Regions from separate parts of the Homo sapiens genome. Here all the other regions are linked to region 1. The links are contacts of gene promoters, found by promoter capture Hi-C in blood cells and fetal thymus (Javierre and others, 2016). All regions are on one chromosome and are shown on one strand. Each heading gives the region's core, a stretch centred on a gene start or on the middle of the fragment in contact. The rest is flanking DNA. Distances are from core to core; before and after follow the strand shown.

Region 1 (5,350 bases), core at 942-3,441:
ATTCAGCAAATCAGAATATTTTGTTACCTCAAACTGTCAACATTTATAAAAAGTATATTGAAATTTAATATAAGCAGATACACATTAAGTAAACTCAAAATATGAAAATTTACAAAAAGATAAATTGGCAGTAATTTACCTTGCAAAATACTACAATTCCATCCATTCACTCCTTTCAGCAACAGATAGGCAAATCTCCAACCTATGCTAGCAAATCCTGTAGGCTTTAAAATATATCCTAAATCTAGCCACTTCTCATTACTTGCTACTAAGTTTTAAAAGGCTGTTATGTTTCACCAATTTTACCAATGCATTTACCACAAAATAACAAATTGCACTGCGATTTTGTTTCTTTTTTTAAATAATTAGCACAATGAATAGTATCTACTGTTGAGCACTGTGCTAAGTGCCAGGGATGCAACAGCACTTATAAAGCTAAAGACCACACTTAAACTTAGCTCTGCCAAATGTGAAACTCATTCATATTCACTAAGTGACAATTAAGAATGCCAGGCACTGTTCTAAGTGCTGGAGACACAGCAGTGAACAAAGGACAATTCACCGAGGCATACAATAAATATAACAACGTCAAATGTTAAGTGCTGGGAATAAAAAAGTAAGATAGGAGGGGGGAATAGAAGTATTGATGGAGTTACTGTAATTTTAAATAGGTGGCTAGGGAAAGCTTCATTGAGTGATATTATAGAGACCAGAGGGAAATGGAGGATTCACATGAAAGCAGATATGTGAGGCAAGAATCCCAGGCAGAGTGAAGAGTACCTGCAAAGGCCCTGAAACAGAAAAGCAAGGAGACCTAGTGTGACTGGAGTTGCGTGAAGGAAAGAGTACGTCAGAGAGGTATGCAGGTCTATGACACAGGGCCTTACAATCCTTTTAAAGGACTTTCACTTTTATTAATCCAGGAGAGAGCTGGTGATGGCCTGGAGCAGGGTAGTAGCAATGGATGTGGTGAGGAGTGGAGTGCAATGGCGCCATCTCCGCTCACTGCAACCTCCACCTCCCGGGTTCAAGAGATTCTCATGCCTCACCCTCTCGAGTAGCTGGGATTACAGGCGTGCACCACCATGCCAGGTAATTTTTTTGTATTTTTAGTAGAGACAGCGTTTCGCCATGTTGGCCAGGTTGGTCTCGAACTCCTGGCCTCAAATGATCCGCCCGCCTCTGCATCTCAAAGTGCTGGGATTACAGGGGTGAGCCACCGCTCCTGGCTGATTTTGGCTACATTTTAAAGCCAACAGGATTTGCTCGCATACTGGCCTGGGGGAGGAGAGAGAGTTAGGGAGTCAAGAATAGCTCCAAGGTTTTTGGGCTCAATAACTGTAAGGGAAGAATGGAATTATTTACTGAAATGAGAAAAACTGGAGGATCTTGTTGGGGGTTAAAGCTCAGGTTTTGGACATATTAGCTAAGTTTGAATTACTAGACATTGAAAAGAATTTGTCAAGAAGACATTCGGATATATGAGTCTAGAATTCAGAGGAGAGGTCTGCGCTGAGTATATACATTTGTAAGTCCTCAGTATATGGTATTTAAAAGCCATGAGATTGGATGAAAAACTGTCACCAAGGAAGCGAGTGTGCCTAGAAAAGAGGTCCAAGGGCTGAGTACTGGGCCACGACAATACTTAAAGCTTGGGGAGATTAGGAGGAACCAGCAAAGCAAATCGAGAAGTAATAAATGAAGAGGTGAACTACGTAATGACCTAGAAGCCAAGGGAGGAAACTATTTCAAGACTGATCAATGTGTCAAATGCCGCTAACAAAGCAAGACAAGGCACATTAAAGAATTTGGATTTTTCACGAAACCGAGACACATGCGGGCTTTGTTGTTGTTGTTTTTATGGAGGGAAGTGAGTCCATCGGCCTTATTTGAGCGTTGTGCGGAACAGAGGAAAGCGGGGCGACAAGAGCCCAAAGCACAAGAGACAGGCGTTCTTCTTACCGTGCGACGAAGTGTAGGCCCAGCTGTAAAAGAGAAAGAGACTTGTGAGGAGCAAAGGAACACCTACCCGCTCGCCTCCCGCTTCCCCTCCAGTCCTCTTACAGGAGGTAGCGGGCTTGGCCCGGGCAGCTGTCGTGCAGTCCCCGCGCTGCAGCCTCAAGGTAGTGCTTCTGTCTCATCGCCGCCGCCGCTGCCGCTGGCTCGCCGCGGGAACCAGGTGAGAAAATAGGGCGCCGGAAGTCGGCTTCCCAGCGTCCCCGTCGTTGGTGTCCGGACTCAAGCTGCTTCCGGAAACAGGCACCGTAGGCAGACAGGTTCCGGTTTCCTTCGCGTCCAGTCTGGCTTGGAGGCGTGCCCAGCCGGGAGGCGGCCCCACCCGCCCGCCGCGTCCCCGCCCCCTCAGTTCCACCCCTTGGCCTGCCGGGTCCTCTCAGGCACCCAGCGGAGTTTCGAGTCAGACTTGAGCTCGGGCGTAGCGGCTAGACCGGGCTGTGGCGATAGAGTCCAAAGGTGAGGCTCCCACCCGCCTCTCCATCTTCCTCCCGCCTCGCCTCCTCTCTGACAGCCCTTTTGTGATTGCCCTGCCGCAGCTTCGCCCTCCACATTCGCCGGGCGCGGTACTGACTGGTGCGCCGGCGGGCGGAAGCGCTGCCAGCAACGAGGCGGCCGGGAGGAGCGTCCCCAGTCCAGCCTGCCCTCCGCCTGCGTAAACGCTAGCGTTTCTCTTTTTGTAATTAAAGTGAAATTCACATAACGTAATATTGACCATTTTAAGGTGAACAATTCAGTGGCGTTTAGTAAATTTACAATGTTGTGCAAGCACCATTCTGCTATTTCCAAAATATTTCGCCGAAGGACAGCCAACTCCATGAAGCACTTACGGCCAATCCTCCTCTCCCTCCCAGGCCTTGGCAACCACCAGTCCGCTTTCTGTCTCTATGGATTTACCTATTCTGGGCATTTCATGTAAATGGAATCATACACACGACCTTTTGTGTCTGGCTTCCTTCACCTAGCATAATGTATCAGGTTCATCCACCTTGCAGCACGTATCAGTACTTCATTCGTTGTTATGGCTGAATAATATTCCATTGTATGGCGGTATCACAATGGTTTATCCATTCATCAGTTGAACGTTTGAATTGTTTCTACTTTTTGGCTGTTATGAATGAATGCCGCTGTGAACATGTGTGTACATGCATTTGTTTGAGTGCCTTTTTTCTGTTCTTCGGGGTATAATACCTAAGAGTAGATCTGCTGGGTTATGTAGTAATTCTGTGCTTAATGAGGGTTCCAGTTTCTCCGTATCCTCACCAACATTTGCTTTTCTTTTTCTTTTTTTTTTAAATCTAGCCTTCCTAGTGAGTATGATGTAGCATCTCATTGTGGTTTTGATTAACATTTCCCTGACTACTGATGCTTTTGAGCAGCTTTTCATGTGCTTGTTGGCAATTTATGTATCTTTGGCTGTTTAAGTTCTTTGCTCATTTTTTATTGGAGTTGTCTTTTTGTTGATAAGTTGTAAGGTTCTTTTAATGTGTATGTTCTGGATAGTGGACCCTTATTTAGCCTGCTTTATTTATTTATCTGAGATGGGATCTCACTCTGTTGCTCAGGCTGGAGTGCAGTCGTGTGATCACAGTTCACTGCATTCTTGAATTCCTGGGCTGGGTTAAAGGGTTCTCTTGCCTCAGCCTCCCTAGTAGCTGGGAACCAGGCACACTACCATGCGTAGGTATTGTTGTTGTTGTTGTTGTTGTTGTTATTATTATTATTATTTTGGTAGAGATGGGCGTCTCACTATATTGCCCAGGCTGGTCTTGAACTCCTGGGCTCAAGTGATCCTCCCACCTCAGCCTCCCATAGTGTTAGGATCACAGGTATGAGACACTATGCCCAGCCCATTTTTAATTTTAAAAGGGAGCTAAATTGGCTAGGCGCAGTGGCTCACGCCTGTAATTCCAGCACTTGGGGAGGGCAAAGCGGGTGGATTGCCTGATCTCAGGAGTCGGCGACCAGCCTGGGCAACACGGTGAAACCCTGTCTCTACTAAAATACAAAAATTTAGCCAGGTGTGGCGGCATGCGCCTGTAGTTCCAGCTACTTGGGAGGCTGAGGCACAGGAATCGCTTGAACCCAGGAGGCGGAGGTTGCAGTGAACCGAGATCACAGCCACTGCACTCCAGCCTGGGCGACAGAGCGAGACTCCGTCTAAAAAAAAAAAAAAAAAAAAAAAAGGCGGGAGGCGGGGGGCTAAATTATATAAAGATTTGTAAAGAGAAAGTATATATTTACATCTCTATAGGCATTTTAACTTTTTCCGAAGAAAAGTTATTTTCCCTGCTCTTCCCACCTTTCCATCCCACTTCTCTGAGGCGATCAACATGAATAATTGGGTGTCTCCTCTACCTATGTCCTTATACACTTAAGTACGTGTATAAATATGCTACCCCCCACCACTTACCACGACCACAACAAAAAGAAACAAACCAAACACACACACAAAACCAAAACCAAAAGTAAAATGTTAGTTCCTTACTGTATAACTTGTCTTTTTTCCTTAACAGCAGGCCACAGACATCTTTTCAAGTTAGTACATGCTTTTAAATAGCTGAACATATTACAAAATGTAATGAAACATAATTTAATTTATTTAATAAATAACCATATTTTATTTTCCTATTGATGTTCATTTGGAAAAAAATTCGTGCTTTGCTAGTTAATACAGTACTGGTGGTTTTATTTCTTTTGTCTGAATTCCTAAAAGATAAATTACTGGGTAGAATAATATGCACATTTTTTATATGCCAGATCATCCAGAAAAGGTTGTAGCAATTCATATTCCCAGCATCAATGACTAAGAAGGCTGGGTCAAATTAGATAGGTGAAAGGCAAATCCTCTTTTCATTTATCCCTTGATGGTTTGCATTTTCTCTTATGAAGAGAAATCTCTTGTTGGATTATCAGTTTTTAGAAGATCTTTTATTTTGGTGAAATTCACTTTCTGCTTGTCATATGTGATGCAATATTTTCTTCTTCCTTATCTTTGGCATAATTTATAACTTTTTAACATTACAAAATTTTGTATGTGATCAAACAAGTCACTCTTTTCATTATTGGATCTGGGTTTTCTGTGTGGTCTAAAAAGTCCTGCTTTGTCAAAGTTAGGCAACTAACTATTCAATTAGATTTTTTTGTTTGTTTGTTTGAGACAGAGTCTCACTCTGTTGCCAGGCTGGAGTGCAGTGGTGCGATCTTGGTTCCCTGCAACCTCCGACTCCCTGGTTCAAGCGATTCTCCTGCCTCAGCCTCCCGAGTAGCTGGGATAACAGGCATGCACCACCATGCCTAGCTAATTTTTGTATTTTTAGTAGAGACAGGGTTTCAT
Region 2 (5,275 bases), core at 2-2,501, 390 kb after region 1:
CTGTAGCAAAGAACCACATTTAGCTATGGAACACTTGAAATGTGGCTACTGTGACCGAGGAGCTGAATTTTTAAAATTTAATTTTAATAGTCACATGTGGTTAGTGGCTCCCACGCTGGACAGTCCAGGTCTGGACACAGATGTGATGTAAAGAGGACTGGACTAACAAGGTCTAGGTTTGAATCCCAACTCTGCTGCTCAGATTGTGACCTGAAAAGTTGCAACTTCTTAGGGCCTTCACTATTTCATCTGTGAAATGACAAGACCTCCTAACTCTCAGCGTTCTTGACACGATTATAAAGCAATGTATTAAACATAAGATATGATCAAAGTGACATTCTCTGCCCTCCAGAAACAGTTCAGAAAGACTACTTTGCCTATTGCCCACTTGACCAAAAAAATGCCAAGTGAGTTTGGTAGACGGGTTGGTTAGCTCAGTGGCTTTGAGAATGAGGACAAGGTCACAAATCTGGGGAGTAAGGGAACCTCATCTAGCAAGGCTGACCAGATAAGAGAAGCAATGACAATGCAAATCATCCCAATTCCTGGTAAATGCTTAAATGGGCAACGTATTGATTATGGATGAGTAAATGACATCTCATTCATTCATTCTTCCAGGAAAAGCGGAAAAGCTACTACATTACCTAAAGCCCGCTACTTCCCAACCACAAACATTTGCTAATTTAGGTCCGGGTCCTCCTCGGGGGCAGCGGGCCGGGAAGCCCCCTCCCCCGCTGCCGGCGTGTCTTCCCCTCCCCCGTGGCGCCGCGAGGGTCAGGCTGGCACCGCGGTTGCAAGTACCACACGGCCGAACCCAGAAGCCATATTTAGCTTTATTTTTGTCAATAAAACAAACTTCCGTCTTCTAAAGAAAAACGGTTCTAACTCAATGTCAAACTAGGACGGAAACTCGCTGCTCGCCAAAGCTGCCAACCAGAGACGCCGCGTGTCCAACGGCACCGGGGTCCCAGACCCGAACCCGCGCCGAGCGTGCCCGCGCCCCGGCCCCAGGCAGCGCCGGCCACAAAGGGACCGGGGACGCGGCCGCGGCGGGGCCTCTTTCTCCACCTCCGACCCGCGCGCAGCGCTGCGGCTCCGGGACTGCCCAGCCGCGGGCGATACACTCACCTCGCTAGGCGCGCGGCGGCGGCGGCGGCAGGCGTCCTCCGGGCCGGCCGCGGCGGTCGCGGCCGGTCCCGCGGCCAGCGCGCTACTCTCGGGCCGCCGTCCGCCGCGCGCTCCTCGGCCACTGCCGGCGGCTCCCCCGGCGGGCGGGCGGGTCCGGCCGGGCCCCGCTCCGCCGCGCCCGCCCCCGCCTCCGCGCCCGGCTCGGGTCGGCGGCTACTCCGGGCGCCCCGCTCGCGGGCTCGGGCGGCGCTACTCCGGGCCGCCCCGCATGCGCGCCGCCTGCCCGCTCACTTGGGGCTCGTCGCGCGGCGGGCGCCGCAGGGCGCCCGCAGGCGCTCGGGCGCGGTCCTCCCTGCGCTGCGTGCTCGGCGGCAGCGGCGGCGGCGGCCCGTGCGGCTGCGCGGGGGAGGCGGGGGCGCCGGCGCTCACCCGGATGCGCGCCCCCTCCGCTGCGGCGAGCCCACCGCGGGGCCGCGACGCTCCCCTCGGGCTCGGGACTCCGGGGTCGGGCGCGGCGCCCCTCCCGGACCGACCGCCCAGTCCCGGCCCCCGCTCACACGGCTACGGGCAGGGCCGGGCCAGGCCGAGAGGTGCCCCCGACCCTGGGTCGGGACAAAGAGGCTGCCGCAGCAAGTTAAAGACAACTCGGGCTGTTGCGCGTCGAGCAGGTCACGGGGTGGGAGGAGATGGAGGAGCCCTCACAGCGGATCGGCTCCCGGGCCGAGCGCGGGGCCGCCCCAACCCGGTCGGCTGCCTGAGGCGGCCGCGAGCGCGGGAGCTGGAGCGCTGTCAGCCGCGCTGAGCCTGCGCCTGGCGACCGCGATGCAGGAGGCCCGGGACTGAGGGAGGACGGCGAGAGCGGAGGCCCGCGACCCGCACCGCCGGGGCAGGCACCCGGGTCTCGGGGGCAGCAACGCCGGGGCCCTTGCAGAACGGGGACTGTTTGGGGAAGTGGCTCCCGCACAGTGCCCGGAGAGGGGCCCTCCCTCTGTGCCCCCTTGGGAAACACTGCTTGGTACAATTCCAATACCCAGCTGTACCCTGCCCTGAAGATAGAAGACAAAACCCTGGCTCTGTCACTCACGCGAGGCATAACCAACCATTCTTTTAATAAATTAATTTTCTACTTAAATAATTCAGAGGTTTGTGTCTTATTGCTTGCCAACCAAGAGCTGCAATAAGAGATTACTTAATATTTAAGTGGTCCCACTTTTAAATTTATATTACCTCTCACATAACCAAAAGGCTGTCCGAAAAAAAAAAAAAAAAACCTGAAGATTATCTCTGGAATTTTAGTATCCTGTTTTTGCTTGTCTACATCTTCCAAGTATTCTAAAATAAAAGTTAAAAGTTACTATTTTAAAAGTACTTATATAATATTTTGAAACAAAGTCAATCATGACTAGCCTGTTACTGTTCCACAAGGAAACTTCACTTTGGAATAAAGTTGTCATCGTTAAAAAATACTCTTATCTTGGGAGAAAAGATTGGCAAATCATATATCTGTTAAAGGACTTGTAGCCAGAATGTATGAAGAACTCTTACAACTCAGTAATAAGACTAATAGTCCAATTTTAAATGGGCAAAACAATTGAATAGACGTTTTACCAAAGATATTTAAATGATCAACAATTACATAAAAAGGTGTTCAACATCATTAGTTAATAGGGAAATGCAAATTAGAAGCACAACAAGGAAGTTCTTGACACCCACTACACTGGCTGTAGTACAAAAGACAGACAGACAATAGCAGTGTTGGTGAAGAGATGGAGAAATTAGAACCCTCATACGTTGCCTATGGAAATGTAAAATGGTGCAGCCACTTTGGAAAACAGTTTTCCAGGTTTTTTAAAAAGTTACACATGAAGTATTCTATCACCCAACAATTCCACTCCTAGGCGTATGCCTGAGAGAACTGAAGATAAATTCATACAGTAACTTGTACATGAATATTAATAACAGTGTTATTCATGATAGCCAAGAAGTAGAAACAGTCCAAATGTCCAGAAACTGCTGCGTGGATAAAATGCAGTATATGCCATACAGTGGACTACTACTCAGTAAAAGGAACGAAGTAGTCATAGAAGATACAACATAGAGGAACCTCAAAAACGATAAGCTAAGTGGAAGAAGCTAGATGTGTAAGAGCCTGTATTGTAGGATCTATTTACAGCCATGCCCCGGTCAATGATGGGTCACCTGTACAATGGTGGTCCCATAAGATTATATGCAGCTGAAAAGTTACTATCACCAAGTGAGGTAGCCTTCATAATGTCGTTGGGCAATGGGTTACCTTTTCTGTGTTTAGATACACAAATACCATTGTGTTAACAATTGCCTGCGGTATTCAGTACAGTCCCATGCTGTACAGGTCTGTAGCCTAGGAGCAATAAGCTGTACCATGTAGCCTAGGTGTGTAGTAGGCTATACCATCTAGGTTTGTGAGTATACTGTATGATATTCTCACAATGACAGAATTGCCTAACAATGCATTTCCCAAAACATACCCCTGTCATTAAGTGACACATTGACTATGTAAGATATCTAGAAAAGGCAAATCGATACAGATAATCAGTGGTCTAGAGCTGGGGGTAGATATGGGGAATGACTGCAAAGGGGCACAAGAGATCTCTTTGCAGTGATATAAATGTTCTAAAATTGGATTGTGGTAATGGTTGTAGATTTACGAAAACTACCTGAACTGTGCACTTGAAATGTGGATTTTATGGTATGTGCAATTACCTCAATAAAGCAATTAAAAAAAAAGATAACTGTGTACCATTAAATAGCGCAGGAAAATAGTACCTTTTTAATCTGCTTGCAACAAGTTCTTTGCAATGAAAACTACCTGTAAGACAAATGAAAAATTGTGTGCTGTTTGCACATAATTCTACCGTGTAATCAAATGCACTTTTCACAACTGTTTTTATAACCAAGCACATTTACCCTTCAACAATCCAAGTCTACTCCTATTCATTCCAAAATGTGTCTTCACTGTACCTGCTAACAGAACAGAAAATGGGGTAGAAAAGGGTAAGCATATTTGAGAGCAGGAAAAAACTAGATTCTTTACAACAAAGTCAAGATTTGCCAAGAAGGAATAGTTGAAAGGGCATAGACCAGGGAATCCAGAGTAAGAATGCTTTCTTTCCCAGTGTTAATCTTGTTTTTCTTTGGCTCTGCCCCAGGACTCATTGGTTGCCTCCAGTAATGCACGTGGTATGCCTGTGGGGTAAGGGACATTGTCTTTGGGCTGGATAATGGTAGGATTCAAGATTTGTTTCATTATTTTATGGATTTGTAAGGATTTTTCATGATTTCTATGATCTTACCATAGAAGAAATTAACCCCTAGAAGAGTAAGTAATGGAGACACATTGAAATTGAACAATCCTACCTGAAATAGCCTATCTGCCCTGACATCCCCTCACCACAGCCCCCGACTCCCGGAAGCACACCAGGGGAGCTGCTCCTTGGAGTAGACTTATTAATTCAGGGCATTATTTCTATCAGGCCCCCTTTAAAATGGTTGTTATCTAAATGATGCTAATATTCTTTCAGTTTATGAATAAGGCCAAATTGTTTGTTCCTGACTACCTAGAAACCAAATGAATGGCACCTAGGGTGGATTTGGTTTAATGGAGAGATGTGGGGGGGTTGCCTGAAGCAGGGTAAACTGTCCAGGAACAACTGACCCACATGGTAGGCAGGGAAGGGAGAAGAGTAGAGGTTGTTTATACAGAATTGTGTGTCAAGCACCCACTTGTGGGAAGGAACAGAAGAGGGTAATGGATGAGAGAGGGACAGACACAAACTAGCCCACACAGATGTCCAGTGATACGAAGTATGTGGAATCATGCAGAATGCAAAGCACCATTATTTTATGATTTTTTACTCCTTGTGTTTGCTTTGCCATACGGAGGCCTGGCAGCTCTGTCTTGTGGCTGCAGCCTCAGGAACATGCATGCACTTCTTCGTCTCATAGCTCCCCTGCCCGTAGACATCATCGCTGTCATGACCACTCACTGTTGTGAGGCCCAGGAACAAGAGAACGCAAATTGGATGCAGGCAGGAACCTTGGTACATTCATCCATTTGGTGGTGATCATGTCATGTCAGCGAGGTGAAGGCAGCCCTGGGGAGATGGAG
Region 3 (5,313 bases), core at 1,643-4,142, 310 kb before region 1:
CAGGTGGATGGATCCTAGCTTTCCTTCTGCTTCCAAGGATGTCCTGAACTCTTCCCTTGGCAAGAAGAGCCTCAGCCTTTCTTGGAGATCCGAGGTGCTGGGAACACTGCCTGCCCAGTGAAGGTTTCTGCTGCTTTCAGTGTCCTTGGATGGCTTGTTGTATCAGCATCCTCTTCAAGCACTAGCCAGCATTCGGTTCTAGCAGTGGATCTCTGGATCCGCTGGATCCCTGTAGCCTGTGCTGTCCTCAGTAGCTTACCCCTCCCTCTCGGATAAAAAAGAGCTGAGAAGGATGGGACACAGTTGGTCCAGAGGGCTTCTTCTGATCAGAGGGTCACTCCAAAGAACAAATGCCATCACTGGAGCCAGCCTTCCAGTGCCTAGCGTCTCTCATCGCAGTTGAAAGGTTGTGGCACACTCCAAATGCCTTTTCCTCTCTTCCCTTGCTGAAGGCCCTGGAGGCCAGAGGTAGTTGTTGGTGGAAACGGACATGGCAGCTTCTGTATGGACAGCATTCTTTTTTTTTTTGAGATGGAGTCTCTTGCTGTCACCCAGGCTAGAGTGCAGTGGCATGATCTCAGCTCACTGCAAACTCCGCCTCCCGGGTTCAAGTGATTCTCCTGCCTCAGCCTCCTGAGTAGCTGAGATTACAGGCGCCCGCCACCATGCCCAGCTAATTTTTTTGTATTTTTAGTAGAGACAGGGTCTCACCATGTTGGCCAGGATGGTCTCAATCTTCTGACCTCGTGATCCACCCACCTTGGGCTCCCAAAGTGTGGGGATTACAGGCATGAGCCACTGAACCCAGTTCATGGACAGCTTTCTGTCATCCCAAGGAGATGGCACTCTGACCATCTGTGGGACTTCCCTTTCAATCTCACAGGCCAACCTGGTCCCTGCTAGATGTACACCTGGCTCCCGAACCTCCCTGAAAGCGCCATTGTCCTTGTGATCATCTGATAAGAGCCATCTAGCTCACTGAACACGAGAACTGTGGGACCGTGCCCATGGCTTAAGCCTGTAATCCCAGTGTTTTGGGAGGCTGGGGCGGGAGGATGACTTGAGCAAGGGGTTTGAGGTTACAGTGAGCTATGATCATGCCACTGCACTCCAGCCTGGGTGATAGAGTGAGATGCTGTTCTATAAAAAAGAACTGTGGTCTTTTCTTTTCTCACAATCACCATCCAGTGCAATGGGAGGCACACAGTGGCCATCACAGCTCATGAACAAATCACTTGCTAATGCTTATTTTTACAATATTTTATGTGTATCAAAAAGCAATTTGTTTAATAAACAATAATGGCTTTCCTTGAGTGAGGTGAGCAAAAAAATGGATGCCTGAGTTAGAGGCCTGGGTTCAAAACCTAGCCCCACTACTTACGAGCTCAGGGTCCTAGGGCAAGTGACTTACTCTCTCCGTGCCTCTCTTCCCTCATTTCTAAAATGGAGATGGTAATAGTCATAGATTTCTCATAAACTTGTTAGAGAGGATTAAGTAATTTAATACCTGTGAAGTGCTTACAATGGTGCCCACAATGATCATTATTCAGCAGTTTATCACAATGGTGAAAAGGCAGACCTAGGTTCAAATCTTATCCTTGCTCTGTATAAGTCGTCCTCTGATCTTGATTGGGTCAATTAATCCCTCTAAGCCTCAGTTTCCTCATTTGGAAAATGTAGGTATAAATACCTACCCTTAGGGTTTTTGTGAGAATTAAATAAAATAAAAGTGCATGACTCTATATACATTCACAAGTAGAAAATAAATGTTATTTTTATTAATAAATTTCTTTAATAAGAAATAGTTTTTAATGTGCAAAAAAGTATGATCTCAATAACCCTACTCATCTTCAGTTACTGCAATCAAAATTCCAACATACTACTTTGTCACTAAGTCACTAAATGAGTTGTTTTTCTCCATGTTTTATGAGAAAAGTCATCGTGCTTCCACTGGTAAGAATTAATTATTGCTGAGTGAATGATTAATTCAGCATCATTAAGCAACTGTGTTTTTTAAAAAGGCTAATTTGAGCTATAAGCAAAACATGTGGAAAGGGTACAACTACTATAAATTCAACATTTTGAATAGATTTCTCGTAAATCTGCTGCTTTAAATGTTAAATAAACATTTAAAATTCATTGGGACTTCTTAGCTGAAGCCATGTTTTAACAGGATTTATAAGTTTTTTCTAAAATTGGGGACCAAACTCTGCGTGTGAAATCATTTTTAAATGCTTCCCTCATGGGAACTGTTGAAATTAGTGACTAGATTATTTTAATGGTTTCTGCTTATACATTGGTTCCACCCACTAGATCCTCACTCAGCTCCTTAAGAGCAGGGACTATGTAAAATGCATCTTTGTGCCCCCAGCACGAAGCACAGTGCTCGGCACTATGATCCATCAAGTTTCATTAACCAAAGCTGGTGAAGAAGGCCAGGAGAGGAGGGTAGTGAGCCAGAGAGGAGCCCAGGGTGGCATCCAGCCAAGATCTCAAAGGGATGACAAAAGGGTGTTCTAAACTCCCAACGAGCTGTCTGGAAAGGCCAGGGCTGAGCTTTTTTCAAGAATCCTGGAGAGCCACCACATATGGCTTTTCCATCAATGCAAAGAACAGAGTCACAAGAGCACTAAGAGAAGCTACACAGAAGGGCACGAGTTATTGGTGGCACGGGGGAAAGTCTGGAAACCTATACACCAAATCATTCAAGGTTAACTGTGTCTCTGATAGGGTGGTAGGATGAGAGGGTATTTCTTTTTGCTCATCTCTATTTCTACTTTTCCCACAATAAGCTTACATTTCTGCATCAGTTCATTGCTCTCGGTGACTCTTGGATCCATCCTCTGAAAGGTCTTTTCTTCTCCATAACACTCCTTGGGTTATGTCCTTCTGAAGTGCCCGTCTGAAAAGGGCACTTTGGAGAATGTGCACTTTTTGGTGGCTGAATAGCCTTATCTTTTTTCTTTCTTTCCATATGAAGTCTGAAGCTTAGAAGTTTTTTTTTATATCTTGAATAGTCAGTCCCTTTTAGTCCAGACTGGTGGCGCTTTTGCTAATACAGATCTTTCAAAACTAAATGGAAGGTTTTTATTTTGGTCAACTCTATGTATTAAAAATCACACAACAATTCTGATGAGGAAATATTGACAAGAATTGGGCACATCAAGCTTTTATGGTACTACACATTTAAAACTTTCTAGAAACCCAAAAGTGTACCTTATTTCAGAGTTCTTAGCTAATTATGTGATGGCCATGACCTTGATGTGGTTCTCTCCTAGCCTGAGTTTATTTATCTTCCTTAGAACTTTGCTGAACTCTGCAAAAAGGAGCCCCATCAATGTGATTTTTTTCCGTATGTCTTCTAACATATGCCATACGGTTGGCATATGGTCAATGTCTCAAAAGACAACAGGCAACAGATTGATAAATATTTTGCCGCAATATAATAAAGGTTATCAACCTTCCAATTTGAAATATTTGAGTCCTTACTATTCACTGATGTGGTACACATCAGGCACCACATTTTCTATCCGTCAGAATTCTTAGTTGGAAACAATAGAAACTAATTCTCACAAGACTAAGCAGAAAATAGGTGTAATAAAGGATATTGTGTAGCTCGCAGACTCCCCAGAGAGCCAAAGAATCAGTTTTGGAGATTGCATAGCTACTCTAAAGTAGACACCACTAAAGGCTCTGCCAGGCATCGCACCACAGATCGTACCGCCATGCTCACTGCCTCCATCACTACCACCAGTAAGCCATGGAGATTTTTGCTTTGCTTGTTAGAGCAGTTAGTATTATTTACACTAATATTTCTTCTGCTTGCTAAAAGGTGTGTTTAATTACAAGTGAATGTGGAATTTCTATCAAAATTGTTCTCTTCATTTACTGAGACAATTTGACTTGCTCCTTTAATCTCTTATTTTCTAAAAGTAAACCTCGGCATCCTTGAAATTAATACAACATGGTCATAATATATCATCTTTGCAGATATTACTGAACAAAGTTTGCTACTTTTTAAAGAATTTCTGAATTTATGTTCATAAGTGATAGGAGCTTATAATCCTCAGAAATGGCTATATGAATATTAGATAAATTGGACTGCAGAGCAAAGAAAATTTCTAAGGACAAAGAATATTACACATCAATAAAGGAATAAGTCCATCACGAAGGCATAGCAATCTTAGGGGAAATGCACCAAATAACATAGCTCCAAAATACATGAAGCAAAAACTGATGCAGCAGAAAGAAAAATATTAATAAGACAAATACACATTGTATTCAGAGATTCTGGCAACCAGACAAAGACAGTGCAAGAAAAGAAAATTACAGACCAGTATCCCTCATGAGCTTAGATCCTCAACAAAATATTAGCAATCAAACCCAGGAATATATGAAAAAAATAAAATATCAGGATCAATGGAGTTTATCCAGGAATAGCAAGACTATTTCAATATTTGGAAACCAATCAATATAGTCCACCATAATAACCACAGAAGAAAAATCACATGATCATATCAATTGATACAGTAAAACCATTTAACAAACTTCAAATGCCCCCATAATAAAAGTTATCAGCAGCCTAGGAATAAGAAAGCAACTTTCTCAACCTCATAAAATGCACCTACAAAAACCTTATAGCTAAATTATACAAAATGGTGAAAGATTGAAAGGCTTATTCCTAAAATCAGGAAGAAAGCAAAGATATCTACACAATACACATGCTTTTCAAGCACATAGAGTATCTATAAAAATTGACCATTTTTATGATGACTGTAAACCATGAACCATTTTTTTTTGGACAGGGCCATAAAGCAAGTTTCAACAAATTTCAACGATTGAAATCATACAAAGTGTGTATTCTGACTATAATGCCACTGAGCTAGAAATCAACCAAAAATAACCTAGAGAAACCCCATATGTTTGGAAATGAATAAAAACACACTTTTAAATAACCTGTGTATAAAAAACAAAATCACAATGAAATATTGGAAAACATTTTTATCAGAATGGTAACAACAATACTATGTATCAAAATCTGAGATGAAGCCAAAATAGTACTTAAAAGAAAATCTATAGGCTTGTAAGAATATATTAGGAAAAAAGGAGAATAAATTAATTAAGCATTCATTCCAATAAGTTAGTAAAACAACAACAACAAAAACAACAGTAAGTTAAATCCAAAGATATTAAGAGGGAGCAGGTGCTGAGGAGAGAGCCCCTCACTAGCTACCACATGTTCCAGCCAGATACCACACATCTCTATCCCTCAAAGAACCCTGACCAGCCTCTGGTGCAGTGGTACCCCTAAGT
Region 4 (5,821 bases), core at 1,943-4,442, 480 kb after region 1:
TGTTTTTGAGAGTCGTTTAGTACATCTGTTGCATTGTATAAACATACACCCGATGAATATTTGAACGTTTACAGTTTTTGGCTTTGTGCAGAAGCTGCTCTGAACATTCTTGTACAAGTCTTTGTGTAGATAGATGCTTTCATTTCTCTTGAGAAGTAGTGGAATTGCTGAGTCAGAAGGTAGGCATACATTTAACTCAGTAACTGTTAAACAGTATTTCTCAAAGTAGTTGCACTGTTTTTGCATTCTTACCGGCAAAGTATGAGAGTGCCAGTTGCTCGAAATCCTCAACAATACAGAGTATTGTCAGTCTTTCATTGTCAGTCTTTAACTTTTAGCCATTTTGTTGAGTGTGTAGTAGTATCTCCTTGTTTTAATTTGTTTCTCTGATGGCTAATGATATCAATCACTTTTCATGAGCTTGTTGGACATTCCAGATCTTTTGTGGAGTGCCTAATTATTTTTTTCTAATTGGCTTTTAAAAAAAAATTATATTGATGTGTAGAAGTTCATTACATTATCTTTCTTGATTAGACTCCTTTGCCAGATGTATGTATTGTGAGTAATTGCTCCCAGCCTGCGACTGGTGCGTTTTGATAACCAGTTGTGCCAGGACCAAGGAGTGTCACTAGGACATATGGGTAGGAATAATTGTTTTGACCCCAAAGGGATTGTTGATCAACTTCCACTACCACAAGCTTCTGAAAGTGGTCAAATGCCTTCAGGAGACTGGAAATTCCCAGTAATCCAATATGGTGGAAATCTTAACTCTCTATTCCCTCTGGGCCTTTTTTGTATCCAAGCAGCAGCCTCAGGAGAAGCTGGAAAGGGCAGAGCATTTCATGAAATAGTGCCTTCTTTTGTCCTGACTCTCCTTTTCCCAACTGATATTTACTAAAGAAGACAGGGTCTTCTTCTGTCACCCAGGCTGGAGGACAGTGGCACAATCATGGCTCACTGCAGCCTCGACCTCCTGGCTCAGTGGATCCTCCCACCTCAGCCTCCCAAGTAGCTGGGACGACAGGTGCATGCCACCATTGTATTTTTGGTAGAGGTGGAATTTCACCACATAACCCAAGCTCGTCTCAAACTCCTGGGGTCAAGCAATCTGCCCACATTGGCCTCCCAAAGTTTAGGGATTACAGGCATGAGCCACTGTGCCCGGTTGTCTTAGATTTTTGCCTTGCTGTGATCCTTTCATTCTAGTTCCCTTTTCACAGCGTATAGGAAATAAGCAGGCATAAGCACAGTACCCCTGAGGGCTGCCAGGAATCTTCTTGAGGTCACCCTCATCTGTGTCACTTGCCCAACCTTTCTGTTCTGTTTCAGTTCAGTTCATGTAGCAGTAATTTATTGTACTGTTTCTGTTCCATCCCCAGCAGTATGCTTAAGACATTTCAAAGGATTATAGCTTGTCCCCACACTACCAAAAACATCCCAGGAGAGAATGACGTATATACATTGTGTTTAGTTTTCTACTGCTGTCATTACAAATTATCACAAATTTAGTGGCTTAAATAACACTCATTTAGTAGCTCATGGTTCTGTAGGTCAGAAGTCCTGACACAATGCAACTGGGTTGACTCTCTGCTCTGGGTATCACAAAGCTGAAATCAAAGTGTTAGCCGAGTTCTTGTCTGAAGGCTCTGGGGAGAAATTTGCATGCAGGTGAATTCAGGTTGTTGGCAGAATTCTGTTCTTTTGGGGCGGCAGGACTGCAGGGCCCCTGTCTTCTTGCTGGCTGTCAGCTGCTGCCCGTGTTCCTTGCCACATGGCGTTTTCCATTTTCAGAGCCAGCTATGGAGAATCTCCCTTGTGTCCAATTCTTCTCATGCTTCAGATATTTCAGACTTCTTTTATTGCTGACCCCTGGACTCAGATTTAAAAGATTTATGTGATTAGGCAGGCCTACTTGGATAATCACCTTTTTTAAAAGTCAGCTGATTTGAGACCTTAATTACATCTGCAAAACCCCTTTGTAGCTGCACCTAGATTAGTGTCTGCTTGAATAACTCGGAGAAATTGTGTGCACACCAGGGGCAGAGTACTTGCAAGGTAGCAGGGGTGTACTGGAATTCTACCTATCACACAAATGAAACCATTAGGAAGATATAGTAATGTCTAACCTTGAGCCAAAGCTAATTATAGGTAATTATAGGTGTTGGTGCCCTATTGTGGTGAGACACAGGAGGATGATTCCTCAGTGCTGGTGATGGTACTCAAAGGAGAGGTAGGGAGGCAGAGGGACTTGAAGTTGGCTTGGAGAGGTTTGCTGGAGAAGGCATTCCAGGTTCAGAGCTGTGCTCATTGTGAGATTAACCCAGGTTGCCCAAGGTTCCCTTAGTGGGGAAGTGAGTGTTTTTCTATAAATGATTGTATTTCTTGAGTTAGAGGAGATTTTATAGGTCTTTCATCACGTAAATTTCCCTACGTCAGTAATTTTAGCTATTTTGATTCTTAAGTAAAGGCAAAGTATGTAAAACTTTCATGGAATTTTAAAATTTACAAAGCACATTTACGTGTAGGACATTAGAGTGCCTTTTGAGATTGTTAAAGATAACTTGAATTATCATGGATTCTTAAGGTGGGTTTAACTTTCCTGAAATATGCTTGCTGTTTCTAAAGTAAAATTGAGTGCTTAGTTGAAATTTAAAGAAGTTTAGAAATTTAGATGCTTAGAAGTCCTGAGGAGTTGAAGGGAATATTTTTCAGCTAAAAGTATTCTGAGAAAAGCATTTATAGAAGCCTTCTTTACATCAGTGTTAGGAAATACTATTAAATAATTTAGTAGTACAAAAACAACTTTGTTTTATCATTTCATCAAGATGGCTCTCTCTAGTTCAGCAGAAATTACTACTAATGTTCATGCTTGCTAAGGGGTGGTACAAATCATCTTAGAATCACAATTCTGTGGATTTATATTTTCACTATAACAGTTGTTGATTAATAATGTTATGAAAGTGCAGTCTTCCATTCACTCTGGTTGTTACTTTGAAGGGATTAATTTTGGTGGGTTGGGGAACAGATAACTGTTAAAGTGAAAGGAATAAGGATAAATAATAGTAATTAATATTTATCAAGCATTTACTACATGCCAGGCACTGTTCTATGTACTTTCTAAGTACTATGTCATTTAATTCTCCAAACGACCCTCTGTGAATTGATCACTTCATTTTACAGATAAAAACGCCAAGAGCATAGAGAGACTGTGTAACTTGCCCAAGCTCACACAGTGTTAGTGTCGGGATTCGAACCCAGGCATGCCGTCCAGAGTCTACATTCTTTTTTCTTAACTGCCTCTCTTGATATCACTCTGTTACTTTGTATATTAGAAGATTATTAATTAGATCTCTGGTATAACCAAATTCATGGTACAGAGAAATGCTTTTGGCAACAGTTTTACTGAATCAATATAGGGTAATTTAGGCTTTTCAAATGTGTATTAAAGTTGATAAAATGTACTGAGAAATCTAATTAACCTATAGACTGAGAGTTACTTAATAGCCTCTTCATTTGTGAAGCAGCTAATAAAACATCTAAAGTGGAGAGGCAGTAGTTGCATCTTTAGGAGGATAGGGCAGATAATGAGAGAATCTTCTGTAATTGGAGGGGCAGCCAGATAATGCTGGACTGATTTGGTTTATTCATTGAAAAAATAGTCATCCTACTATTCAACTTTTGTAAAACACAAAAGTAAAAATTCAACAAATCCTGATAATTTTAAGTCTTAAAAGTTATTCTTTTCTATTTTTAAAATTACCTTTTTTTTCATTTTTAAAATTGACATAAAAAGTCACCCAATCTCCTTCCCCAACAACTATTATAATTTGTGTTTTCTACATGTAGATACAGTTTTTCATCATTATATTTGGTATATAGTATTACGTGCCCCGTTTTTCACTTAGCATTATTTTGTGAACATTTCTATGTGTTGATAGTCTTCTCAATTAGACTTTTAAAAGTCAAATAGTCTTTTATGACTATTGACTGCATTATATTCCAAGGAATTAACTACTCATATTTAATTGACTTTATTATTGGATATTGAGGTTGCATTTTGAATTTTTGCTGTTTTAAGTAACCCTATAGTAACCTTGCAGTTTTAGACCAGGGTCAGCTATTTGCATCTATAATTCTATGACATAGATATAACTTGACATTTGACTTTTCAGTAATAAGACAAAGGATATTTTTCTCCTTTCTTTGTAACCACAGACAGAATGTCCAAATTATCCTTTAGTCTGATTCAGAGTCAAGCACACTACTGTCTGGAGAGATGAAGCCATTGATTTGGGTTCTTCAGTTGGGCAGAGCAGAGCAGGGCGAGACCCAGGCCTTGTGAACTCCAGTCTATTAGCATAGGCGTGTGTTTCCTGAGTAGCAGGCTGGATTTCTCTTCCCTGAGACTTACATCAGCTCTGTTAGTGCTGCAAAGAGGGGGCGCCCCTTAGTGCTAGGCGTTCCTTCCTCTCCTCTTAGGGTGTTCATATCTTGGGGCGGGACAGTTCATCTTGTAAAGTCCTTAGTGATAATAGTGCTTTAGTAATATGGAAATGATGCATCATTTTAATTTTATCTTATTGCATCCAAGCCTCACAGACTTGATCTTCCCTTTGACTAAAGGTCTGTCTCCCTCTCATCCTGTTGTTAGTAGACACAGGAGTCTCAGCTAGGCTAAGGGTGTAGTAATGTGGGGGTCGGGGGAGAGGAAAGTGAAGCATAAAACCAGCTCTGGCCTGGGGCAGGGGTGTCTCTGGTTAGAGAAGGAAGGGAGCCTGCCACAATCTCAGAAGCAGGAGGCAGCACTGGTATGATGTGGCTCAGTTCACTCCAGGGTGGCTTCCTTTCTCTGCCCTCTCTTCAGCCTGACTTCCCAGCGGGGGTCTGGCAGAGGATGGAGTGAGCAAGCCGGCAGGAGGGGTCCCTTTCAAAAACCAGTGCTTCCGTGTGTCATTTTCATCCTCTTCTTGACTCTTCTCTAGCTTGCTGCCTGGAATGGCTGACTTAGACCTCTGGTCCTCTCTTCATTACCACCCTCTCCTTACTCTCAGCAGACGTGCTTGTCTGCCTGAATCTAACGAGGGCCCCTGTCTGGCATTTTTCTCCCCTGTCTCCCTGGGGCCTTGGAACTAAACGCCTATGTCAGAAGAATCCCCCTGTATTGCTTTCCTTTCATTGGGCACACAGCACCTTTGAGCTTCCTCACTGGGATTGGGGAAGTGGAATAAACTGAAAAGGAGAAATAACAGTATTTGGCCAGGCGCAGTGGCTCACACCTGGAATCCCAGCACTTTGGGAGGCCCAGGTGGGCAGACCACTTGAGTCCAGGAGTTCGAGACCACTGTGGGCAACATGGTGAAACCTTGTCTCTACAAAAATACAAAAGTTAGCTGGGCATAGTAGTGTGCACCCGTAGTCCTAGCTACTCATGAGTGGGGGCTGAGGTGAGAAGATGGCTTGAGCCCAGGAGGTTGAGGCTGCAGTGATCTGTGATTGTGCCACTGCACTGCAGCGTGGGTGACAGAGCGAGACCCTATCTCAACAACAACAACAAAATAATAAAAAAAGAAATGCAGTTTTTGAACATCTCTGGAGTGGAAGAAAAAGCGAACTCCACTGCCTGAGGATAGGACCCTGGGAGCTGGCAGGTATGTGGATGGTTCTGTAATCGCTGTTGGAAGCTTTGGGGACTGCATTTTCCCTTTCCCTTTAGTGTGTCCTTTTTGCTCTTTAACAGTTCAGATTGGTTTTTTCCTCCCTGATGGCAACAGTATTATATCAGTAGTCATATTCTTTATGAGAAACTCAAACGATAAAGTTG
Region 5 (5,196 bases), core at 1,875-4,374, 360 kb after region 1:
TAGAGTTCTGGTTTTTGCCTTAACTTCCTTCCATTATCTATTTGTCTATGCTTGTCCAAATATTATGCCATCTCAATGATTAAAGTTTTACACTATCTTAAAATCTTGTAAGACAAGTACTTGCTTCAGGAATGTCTTAGCCATTCTTGACCCTTTGTATTTCCAAATAAATTTTAGAATTAACTGGTCAAATTCCACAAAAACAAACAAAACCATACCCTGCTGGGTGTTTTTTTTAATAGCAATAAATTCATATATTAAAGACAGATTAATTGATACGTTTATAGGAAACCTTCTTTCTATGAACATGGTATGTCGTCACATTTATTTAGGTCTTCTTAATGTCCTTCGATATATTTCTATACCTTTCTATTTAAAGATCTTGCCCTCTCTTTTTCTATTTATTCCTAGGTGGCTTTTTATTTTTTTTACTATTGAGAAATATTTTTATTACATTTATTATTGTATGCTGCTAGTTTAGAGTAATAGAACTGACTTTACCATAATGATCTTCTTGTTGATTAATTGGCATTCCTTGCAGATTCTGGATGTTAGTCCTTAAATTTTACTATATCAATCATATATTCGCAACTTAATAAACTCCTGAATTTTCTATGAAGGTACTTATATTCACTCTAAGGAATGACCATTCTGTTCATTCCTCATAGCCCTGTAGCTCTTTGTTGCTTTACTGCACTAACTCATATCTCCAGTGCAATTGTGAAGAGGCAGGGTAACAGTGGGCATCTTTATATCGCTGCTGTTTTTCAAAGGAATACCATTAATGTTTCTCTATCAAATACTATGTTTGCTGTAGGTTTTTCACAGATGCCCTTTGTCAGGTTACAGAATTTCCCTTCTGTTCTTAGTTTGTTATGAGTTTTTACCATAAAAGAGAGATGAATTTTAATAAATTCTTTTTCTGTATATTTTAGGATGATATGGTTTTTTTAACTTTAAACTGCTTGTGTCGATAATTACATTAATAGTCCTTCTAATGCAGAACCAAGCTCGCCTTCCTGGAATAAACCCTTTGTTCAATATCCAGTATTTCCTTTATACACTGCTGAATTCAACTTGCCTAATTATTTTTGATAGTCTTTTGCTCTTTAGCCGTATTTTATACTCTCTAAACATATTAAGCATTTATCTTATATTACATATCTGACAACTACAATATCTGCAATGTTTGAATGCCTGATTACACGGTCTCCTTGCTCTGCTGATTAACTCATGGTTTATATAAAGTGTTTTTGGTTTTTTAAATTGTGAATGCATTTCTAGGAAGAAACTTTACCTGTGTCAATTCTCTGAGGCCTGTGTTCCTGTATTTCTCCAGTGAGGATTTCATTTGATTCTCAGTCCTGAGACTGAGACTACTTTTCACTAAATTCTTGGCTTGGTTGTTTTTTTTTCCCCCACCATTAAGGTAGTATGAACTTCAACCCCAAATCCAGTTAGAGTGGAACTGCAGTTATAATTTTTCGGGGAAGGTTATTTTACCCTTCCAGTGAAAAGCTGAAACAGGCAACCTTGTTCCTATGCTCCCTACCCTATACTTTTCCAACCACTGAGGGATAGGTTTTTTGCTTTTTCCTAGTTAAACCCACTGACAGCTTTCAGGGAGCTTCAGCTTTACACAAAGGTCTCTGGATCTTACTTAGCAACTGCTTGATCCCTAGACACCGTCTGGTACCCTATGGCCACCCTGCAAAAGCCAAAGTTCTGGGTTTTGAAGGACTTACAAATACCAGAACCCTCAGCACGGGAGCCAGTATCACTACTAACTTACCTCCCTGGATTCAAGATTTCTTGTTCTGGGCCTCTGGAAAGTTTCCTTACCTCTTGTCAGCTCAACGATGCATTTAAAAGATATTTTGAATATTAAGTCCAGTATTTTTAACATTTCATAATGTGGGACCTTTTTTTTAACCTCTACTCTGCCACGCTGCCAGAAACAGAAGCCTCTTAAAGTTTTGAATAGTCTGCTGAGTATTTTTCCCCAAAAGAAATGTACATCCACTTCTAGAAGCCAAAGGAAAAGCAATTCATTGAATTAACAAATATATTCTAGGCACTCAGTACGTATCAGTAAACTAAACAAAGATCAATGCATTCAAAGCACTTCTGTAGGAGCAGAGTAGGAGACAGGAAATAATAAACATAAGTAAACTAGATTATAGCACAGAAGGTATTGCAATGGAAAGAAAGAAAAATTGAGTAGTCAGGTAGGGAGGACCATGAGTGCCTGGTGGAGAGGAGCTGCGATCTTAAACAAGGTAGCTATTACTAAAACATTTCTTACTTCCCTATAACATACCACTGATTAATTTTTTTAAACATAAAATTTTAAGAAACTATGGGTACTTTCCTCCTCTCCTGGTGTGAGGTATGATGGAGAGCTGCCTACGGATTTTTTTTTTTTTGAGACAGAGTTTCATTCTTGTTGCCCAGGCTGGAGTGCAATGGTGCGATATTAGCTCACTGCAACCTCCACCTCCTGGGTTCAAGCAATTCTCCTGCCTCAGCCTCTCGAGGAGCTGGGATTACAGGCACCTGCCACCATGCCCAGCTAATTTTTTGTATTTTTAGCAAAGACAGAGTTTCATCACGTTGGCCAGGCTGGTCTTGAATGCCTGACATCTGGTGATCCATGCCTTGGCCTCCCAAAGTGCTGGGATTACAGGCGTGAGCACCACGCCCGGCCTAGAAAGGTTAATACTACATGACTCCATCTACTTCAAAGAAATTGGGGCACACTTTAATATTAATTGGAAATGCTAAAAAATTTATGATGCTATTTGTTCAAAAAAATTAAACAAATATAAAAATAAACACGATAGGCTTAGAGTGAAGCTTTTACTGAAAAAATGGTTAAATTAGCAGACTTATCTTTCACATTTCTAAAGATAATTAGAATTTAATTAGTATCACTATTAGGCAGTTCTTTTGAATTTTAAACCTAATCCAGAAGGCAAATTGTCCAATTATATCTCCTTCTATCTTTCATGGAGATGTACCCTATTTTTAACTCATTAAAACAGGTTTTTTCTCTTTTCATAAGAATCATGTGTGAAGTTATTAAATCACATCTTAAAAATATTTAAATCCAAACCTAAGACAGTATTTTGCAGCCTTATAATTATTTTCATTACTTTTCCCTTTATCTCTCAATTTTTCCTTCTCTTAAAATGTAGACAACAAAGCTAGAGCTCATATTTTATATAAACACTGTGATATAATTACATATAATAAATGATGTCTTTTTTAATGATACAGGTAATAAATAATGATGGTAATGAGGACACTTTATATTGCCTGTCAGATAAAACTCCCAAAGGGCAAGGCCTACAAATTTAGAGACAGGATTTTTGTGTAAAAACAGAAGCTTTGTGGGAAACTTTTGTCAGGATCCTTTTTTCAAGACAAAAAAGATTAGAAACAGTTTTACACAGAAACAAAACAGACTGAGTTAAGAATGTTTCCCAAGGCAGTCAAACACTGCATTTACCACAACAACGTATTACCATTAGCTGGTGGTGGTGCTGCCTAACACAGGGTCCAAGCTCTAGGCAGCCTCTGGCCAGCTGCCATTCCCTCCACTCTCAAGACCATGAGAATTCCTCCTGCATTTGGCACATACAATTAGATTACCAATTCCCAATATTAAACTTCCTCCACATCCTTACTTTTGTCTGATTACATATTGGACCTTGATTGAATTTTATTTTACATACTCTCAGATGTATAAAGAGAGCAAATTGTCTTTTAAAAACCTGAGTTAGATAACATTCGATTACATAAATATTTCTCTAAGGTTGCTGCAAATTATAGCAAATTTTCTTACTGACTTATATAAAATATTAAAAAGCTATTAAATAAAATACCTGAAAGTTAAACTATGGCACAGGGTGGAAAGTCTCTGCAGTATGTTCAACTGCCTCACTTTCTCTCACACAGTATTCCTGCCTTAGAGGTATCAATCCCTTGGCCAATTTAGTAGCTCAGCCAAAAAATGAGAAAAAAAGTGAAAGCATGGCTCCAGGGACCTTCCCCTGCTCCCGAATCCGTATTCCCACCACATATGCACTTTAACCAAAACAGCTCCACCTTTATCTTTTCTATGCATTGGAACTTGTTAGGAGATATTTGAAAATATACTCCTGCTACTAAAAAGTTTGAAAATCATCCACCTACAGCAGCAGTTCTGAAAATGTAGTACAAAGACCCCCACCCTATCCAACTCAAGGGGTCATCAAGACCCTTTCAAGGGGTCTGCAAGGTCAAGACTATTTTTATACTATGCCAAGTCACCATTTGCCTGTTTACTGTCATTCCCTCCTAAGCATGTGGCTGAGGTCCAGAGGCTACATGATATGCAGTATCAATAGACTGAATGGAAAAAAGAGGGTATGAGAATCCAGCTATGAGAAGCCAGACACTAATGGGATTTACACAAATGTCAGATAATGCCACACTTCTCACTTTTTTTGTTTTGGAAAAGTTATTTTTCATAAAAATGTTTATATTAACATATCACAAGTCTATTATTTTAAATAAATTATTTTTAAATGTCTAGGTTATCTTTAATTTGGTAAATATCAATACATATGAACCCACAAAACAAACTCTTCGGGGTCTTCAGTAATTTCTAAAAGTGTAAAAGGGTTTAGAGAACTACTGGATTAAGAACAATTAACTCACAGAAGAAAATTCAAAATCCATAATAAAAAAATCCACTTATATTCCCATCACAAACATTTATTAAATGCCAGTTTTATGCTGGGCTCTAGATCTACAGCAATAAACAGGACAGACAAGGTCCCTGCTCTCATGGAACTATAGTAAAGCACTAGGACACAGACAATAAACAAAAAGTGACAGCCAGTAAGGAACGCTCCATAAACAAACAAAAAGAGGAGTTGGCTTGTTAGCAAGTGACTGGGTGGCTACTTTATCCTAGGTGATCAGGAACGGCTTCTCTGAGGCAGGGCAATGAGAAGCAGCCTGGAAGAGCAGGGAGCCAGACACAGGAAGATCCTGCAGAAGGGCCTTCTAGGCAGAGACCACACCCTGGTTCCACTCTGCACCTCTTTCCCATGCCCTGCTCTTCATTCACATCCAACCACTCCCAGCTGCCCAATTACGTCATGCTTTCTCTGGCTTCCATGTCTGCACAGGTGTTGCTTTCTCTGT

Evidence for each region. Contacts are between HindIII fragments. The CHiCAGO score rates a contact against its expected background, and 5 or more counts as called.
Region 2: the fragment with the promoter of GALNT1 here is called in contact with the fragment with the promoter of RMP24 in region 1 in 4 of 17 cell types (M2 macrophages, naive CD4 T cells, activated CD4 T cells and 1 more); the score reaches 6.8 in M2 macrophages.
Region 3: a contact is called between a fragment that was not itself captured here and the fragment with the promoter of RMP24 in region 1, in 1 of 17 cell types (naive B cells). The highest score is 6.0, in naive B cells.
Region 4: a contact is called between a fragment that was not itself captured here and the fragment with the promoter of RMP24 in region 1, in 5 of 17 cell types (naive CD8 T cells, non-activated CD4 T cells, total CD4 T cells and 2 more). The highest score is 7.7, in naive CD8 T cells.
Region 5: a contact is called between a fragment that was not itself captured here and the fragment with the promoter of RMP24 in region 1, in 1 of 17 cell types (naive CD4 T cells). The highest score is 5.2, in naive CD4 T cells.

What each region holds. Positions count from the first base shown.
Region 1 is chr18:35,969,520-35,974,869 of GRCh38, reverse strand. It overlaps RMP24 (ribonuclease MRP subunit p24), which reads right to left and starts at 2,191. Exons shown (of 5, transcript NM_031446.5): 1 at 2,065-2,191; 2 at 1,963-1,985. The coding sequence starts at 2,141. It overlaps LOC105372066 (a long non-coding RNA gene), which reads left to right and starts at 2,419. Exons shown (of 4, transcript NR_188032.1): 1 at 2,419-2,472. RefSeq lists an enhancer at 1,509-2,401 and silencers at 2,321-2,470, 2,410-2,704. The HindIII fragment of the contact is 7,007 bases long and covers 1,654-5,350 here.
Region 2 is chr18:35,577,716-35,582,990 of GRCh38, reverse strand. It overlaps GALNT1 (polypeptide N-acetylgalactosaminyltransferase 1), which reads right to left and starts at 1,251. Exons shown (of 12, transcript NM_020474.4): 1 at 1,129-1,251. RefSeq lists a silencer at 1,510-2,209. The HindIII fragment of the contact is 12,017 bases long and covers 1-5,275 here.
Region 3 is chr18:36,279,276-36,284,588 of GRCh38, reverse strand. No RefSeq gene overlaps it. Among named protein-coding and RNA genes, the nearest start is that of FHOD3, 16 kb to the left of the region's middle. The HindIII fragment of the contact is 195 bases long and covers 2,795-2,989 here.
Region 4 is chr18:35,490,493-35,496,313 of GRCh38, reverse strand. The region is part of intron 1 of INO80C (INO80 complex subunit C); the gene reads left to right. Among named protein-coding and RNA genes, the nearest start is that of INO80C, 4.6 kb to the left of the region's middle. RefSeq lists enhancers at 4,294-4,955, 4,956-5,617, 5,683-5,821. The HindIII fragment of the contact is 4,983 bases long and covers 701-5,683 here.
Region 5 is chr18:35,610,096-35,615,291 of GRCh38, reverse strand. The region is part of intron 1 of GALNT1 (polypeptide N-acetylgalactosaminyltransferase 1); the gene reads right to left. Among named protein-coding and RNA genes, the nearest start is that of MIR3975, 21 kb to the right of the region's middle. The HindIII fragment of the contact is 532 bases long and covers 2,859-3,390 here.